2 separate regions of the Homo sapiens genome follow, and region 1 is linked to region 2. Evidence: promoter capture Hi-C in human tissues and cell types (Jung and others, 2019). All regions are on one chromosome and are shown on one strand. The core of a region is centred on a gene start or on the middle of the fragment in contact, and the rest is flanking DNA. Distances in the headings are between cores, read along the strand shown. Region 1 overlaps WDR93 (WD repeat domain 93). Region 2 holds the start of MESP1 (mesoderm posterior bHLH transcription factor 1).

Region 1 (2,700 bases), core at 158-2,657, 42 kb before region 2:
AAATTTCTGCTCATCGAAAGATGCTATTAGAGTTCAGTCAGTAGCAGGAGCAGAGAGCGGACCCCAGAGAGCCCTGAACAGCCCCACCTCCACCCGTCCTAGTGACAGTCACACCCTGGAGGAGCTACAGTTGTCGCAGCTGGCTCTAGTCACCATCACCACTACCCTGAGCAAGGAGGCTGAGACCCAGCAGCTGCCAGTCCTCAGCAGTGCCCACATCTGCACCATAAGAAGTGGTTGCTAGGGTGGCTAGGACAAGAGCGTCATTGCAATGAAAATTTCGGAAACAGATGATTCAATGTCAGGAATGGCTATGTTTTCATCCACAGAAAGGACATCAAGGAGGTGTATTTGGACACAGACAGTCATAAAAGAATAACCCCAGGAAGTGCTTTCCCAGTGTAGTAGATGGAGTTTGAGGTTATTGAAGGGTATGGAGGTCGCAAATGTTACAGGCCCTAATTGCATTCCTATGCAAGGCAAGTAGATCTGCAGCAGACTAACCATTATGAATGCTGTCCGCATTGTAGGGCCAGTCCTCCACTCACTCACCAGCCGAATTATCAGAACAGTGAGAGTGGGGAAATGACCAAAGGTCAGAGAGTGTTCCTGAAGGCCAGGCTCAACAGCTGGCCCAGGCATGGGCTTCTAGCCTGTGGCGACCCTGTGGGTACCCACATTATTGTGGTGCACCACTATTGTGGCTGTGACGGCCAGGTGCCCACACTATTGCAGCCGTCCGGTGCAGGGAGAAGTGATGGAGGTACTGATAACCAGGGTGCAGGAGAACAAGGTGGACCAGTGACACAATCCTACACCACAATTCTCCAGGGCCCCTTCTCACCAAAGACAGAGAGGTCAGCAATGAAGAGGAAAAGGAAAATCAAGATGAGACACAAGGTCAACAACTGCAACTTCAGTTACAGATGTAGATGTCCAGAAAATCCTAAACCCCACTGTGGCAGAGACAAAAGCAAGGGATCCACCAGCTGAGAATGCCTTGGATCCTGAGGCTGGGCAGGGTGGGGGTGATTTATTTATTTATTTTTTGCCTGTTAACCAGATAACTAGAACTAATTGCATTATCAGTGCAGCATCTGGTTTTTAAAAAGCCAAACTGCAAACTGCTAATAAAGGCCTTAAATAATAATAAATATAATAAGAAAATGTAAAAACAAGCCAAAGACTGGGAGAAAATACCTGTTTTATATATATATACTTTATATATATTTATATATCCTTCAAAGTATTTGTATCCAGAATATATAAAGAACTCCAAATCAGTAATAAAAAGACAACCCAATAAAAAATAGGCAAAAGACTTAAACTGACATTTACAAAAGGAGACAGTGTTTCGCCATGTTGCCCAGACTGGTCTTGAACTCCTGGACCCAAGCAGTCTTCCCACCTTGGCCTCCCAAAGTGCTGAGATTACAGGTGAGGTAGTTTCTTACAAAGTTAAACCTATGATACATCAAGCCCATTTTTAGGTATTTACCCAAAAGAAATGAAAACATTTGTTCACAAAAAGATTTGTACAAGATGTTCATAGCAGCTGTATTTGTAATAAAAAAAAAAATAATCAAGGCCGGGTACAGTGGCTCCTGCCTGTAATCCCAGTACTGTGGGAGGCTGAGGCGGGCGGATCACGAGGTCAGTAGAACAAGACCATCCTGGCTAACACGGTGAAACCCCGTCTCTACTAAAAATACAAAAAATTAGCCGGGTGTGCTGGCACGCGCCTGTAGTCCCAGCTACTTGGGAGGCTGAGGCAGGAGAATTGCTTGAACCCAGGAGGCGGAGATTGCAGTGAGCTGAGATCGCACCACTGCACTCCAGCTTGGACGACAGAGTGAGACTCCGTCTCAAAACAAAAACAAAAACGAAAACAAAAAAACATAATCAGAGAACAAATAAAAATTTGTGGTAGACTAAGTCAATGGAACACTAATCGGCAATAATAAATAATAAACAACTGATGATTACAACGCAGCAGATGAAACTCAAAAACATCAAGTTGAATGACAGAAGCCAGACACAAAAGAGTAGGTTCTAATTATGAAATTATATGAAACTTAAGAACAGGCGAAATTTATCTGTGTTAGCGATGGAAAGCAGAACATTGGTTGCATATGGAAGTGTAGTTGGCTCAAACAGGCATACGGTAACTTTCTAGGATAATGGTAACGTCCTATACCTTGACAGGGTGTTAGTTACAGGGACGTATAAGTTTGTCAAAACTCATCAAGTTATGCATTTAATACCTGTGCCTTTACCTATATTTAAATTTTATCTTTAAATAAACTCTCCTAAGAAAAAAAAAATACTGGGAATGTCCCGCAACTCATTTTATGAGACCAGCATAACTATGATATTCAAATTATCAGGGATGTTACAAAAAAAGTACTGTTGGTGGATTAAAACACATAAAAATATTTAAAATCCATTAATTCATGATAATATATTTTAAATACTTTATTGTCACAACTTTGGAAGTTGTGAGGGAAGTTTCAGAAACTCAGTATTCTGAAAACTGATAAGGGAAAGAATCAAGCTTTTATTCTGACTTTTTCATATGGGCAACCAATTTCAAGGCAACAAAATGGTTGATGATGGAAAGATCTTCCTTATAGAAGAATTCTAATAAATGCAGAAGGAATGATAGAACTGAGGTATCCTACTTTTGTTGCCTATTACAAA
Region 2 (2,700 bases), core at 15-2,514:
AAGGGCCGCCGCGGTGGGGACGGCTCTCACCCGCAGGAATGCCCCCGTCGGGATCGCCCGTGCCCTCTTCCAGGAAAGGCAGTCTGCCAAGGAACCACTTCGAAGGTGCTGAGGCCAAAAAGCCTCGGTGCTCACAGAGACGGCGTCAGTTGTCCCTTGTCACTTGGGCTCCTCAGGCAGCCACTCCAGAGGCGAGAGGGGCATCCAGGTCTCCAACAGAGCCAGCACGTCGCCCGGAAGGAGCTGTAGGGAGAGACGGAACAGCGCAGCCCTCAAGCACTGGTGGCCTTGTGCGGGTGTCCGCGCTCGTGGGCTCCACTCTCAGGGGGCCCCTAGCGAGGGGAGACCCAGTCCTCTGCGTGGCCTTTCCCTGCCTTCGCTTCTTGGAGCCCTGGGCATACTATGGTGGCCAGGTGGCCAGGCTGCCGGCGGGGAGCAGCAGGGTGCCTGGTCCTCACCTTGGCGGGCGGTGGGGCTGTGCGCGGGGGCACGGACGAAGGGGGCGCGGGGAAGGGGACACTAACCGGGGACGGTGGGCTTGGCTCCATCGCCTGCCCTTCAGGGCACGCCGCCTCGGCGAACAGCGCAGGCGGGTCGCGCGGCTCGGGTGCAGCTCGGGCTCCGGGGCAGGCAGGCGGGGATCCCCAGGACGCCCCGGCGCGGACGGCGGATACCAGGCCCAGCCCGCGCCCCTGCCCCTGCCCCTCAGCCTGCGTCCGTGTCTGCATCTGCGCGGGGCAGTCGTCGGGGCACAGCGGGCAGCCCCGAGGGGACCCCGCGTCACCGCGCTGCCGGCACCGGCGCTGGAGACTCTCCTCGCTGAGGCCTAGCACGGCCGACAGGTGGCCGATATAGCGGATAGCCAGGCGCAGCGTCTCGATCTTGGTCAGGCTCTGGCCCGCGGGCGCCACGGACGGCGGTAGAAAGCGGCGCAGCTCGTGCAGGGCGCGGGCCAGCGTGCGCATGCGCAGTTTCTCCCGCTCACTGGCGCTCTGCCTCTGCCCGCTGCCCAGGCGGCTGCTGCGCGCGCCGCGCCTACCTACGGAGGGGGCGCGGGGGTCCCGGAGGGTGCCTGGCCGCGCGGGGCTCGCCACGGGGCTGTCGGCTGGGGTGCTGCCCCATGAGTCTGGGGACGAGACGAGGGAGCGGCCGCAGTCCTTGTCGGAGGGCGGCGGCCGCCGAGTTGGGCCCCAGGCCGCAGAGAGCATCCAGGACTCGGAGAGCGGCGGGCACAGGGGCTGGGCCATGGCAGCGGCGGCGCGTCTGGGGGCCGGCGGCCGGCGGCCGCTTTATGCCGAGCCCGAGGTGTGAAGTGGCCCCTTCCAGGCCGCATCAGCACATCAAAGTGGGCTCGGGGCTTGGAGGGGGCGGAGCCTGACCCTTTGAATCCACGGCGGGGGGCCAAGGTGCCAGCCCCTTGACTGCGCCTGTTTCGCCCCACCTGGGCCCTCGCTTGGGCGCCCGACCCAGCCTCTCGGCCTTCCCGCCTGCGCCCAGTGTTGGGTGAAGCCCGGGGCGTTGGGCCAGCCCTGCAGGTTAAAGGAAGCGGGGTCAGAAAAACGAAATCTAGATCCTAGGTTTGGGGCCTGCCTTCACCTGTTGGGGACCTTATGCAAATTCTTAGTTCTTTTGCACCTTAGCTTCCAATTTGTATAATGAGAGCCTCAGGGCATGCGCCAATTGGACAGTGGAGTAGAGTAAGGACCAGGAGCAGGGACCCTCATTCCCTCTAAAGGTGGAGAAAACAGTAAACCACTTCTCCTTTGAGGCAGGATGGCCCTGGGTAGACCCTTCCCTGGTAAGAACATGTGGACAGTGCAAGGAAGCTTGCACCCCGGCAAATTCAATAAGCTGCCGAGTCTGGTCAGGATGCTGGACCTTCTGAGCAGAGGGAGGGGGTTAAGCCTGCTCCAACCCCAGGCCACCTCTAGCCTGGCAAGGTCTGGAGCTTGGCCTGTTGCCACAGCTGTCACCACTGGCCTTTACCTGATGTTCTGCCGCTATTGGACAGGTATAACAGGTTTTCCCAATGAAATGTGAGTGGAAATGACGCAGCAAAGGCATTTGACAAAATCCAACACCCTTCGTGATGAAAATTCTCAGCAAACTAAGAATAGAGAGGAATTTCATCAACCTGATGAAAGGCTCCTACAAAGAACCTACAGGTAGCCTCATACTGAGTAGTGAAAGACTGAAATCTTCCCCCCACCCCCCGATTGCAGGAACAAAGCGAGGGTGTCTCTCTTACCACTCCTATTCAACATTGTACCAGATGGAGGATCTAGGCTATGCAATTAGGAAACAAAAGACATACAGGTCAGAAAGGAAGAAATAAAACTCTTTTCGCAGGTTATGGCAGCTCTGGGCCCTGCTGCGCATGAGCCTGACCAATTTAAAGCGGAATCCTGGCTCCAGGAAACCCATGAGACGACCAAAAGGTCGGAGAAGAGGTAGAAAATGCGGCAGAGGCCATAAAAGAGAAAGGCAGAGAGGAAACTGGCTCTGCTGGGCTTTGGGGATGGCCAGACTCTATTTTACATCGGAATCCCAAAATACAGATTTAATGAAGGACTTAGCTTCAGACACCAGTATCAACCTTTAAGTATCAATAGACTGTAATATGTTACTGATTTGGGTCGTGTTGATCCTACTCAACCTATTGACTTAACCCAGCTTGTCAATGGAAGAGGTGTGACCATT

Evidence for each region. Contacts are between HindIII fragments. The study calls those that stand out against the background at their distance.
Region 1: a fragment that was not itself captured here is called in contact with the fragment with the promoter of MESP1 in region 2 in 2 of the 25 tissues and cell types used here (ovary and small bowel).

Annotation. Positions count from the first base shown.
Region 1 is chr15:89,708,293-89,710,992 of GRCh38, forward strand. The region is part of intron 4 of WDR93 (WD repeat domain 93); the gene reads left to right. Among named protein-coding and RNA genes, the nearest start is that of WDR93, 19 kb to the left of the region's middle. The HindIII fragment of the contact is 4,089 bases long and covers 1-2,700 here.
Region 2 is chr15:89,749,985-89,752,684 of GRCh38, forward strand. MESP1 (mesoderm posterior bHLH transcription factor 1) reads right to left here and starts at 1,265. Exons shown (of 2, transcript NM_018670.4): 1 at 525-1,265; 2 at 1-243. The coding sequence starts at 1,247. The coding sequence ends at 160. It also overlaps the pseudogene MRPL15P1. RefSeq lists silencers at 536-825, 886-1,315. The HindIII fragment of the contact is 13,666 bases long and covers 1-2,700 here.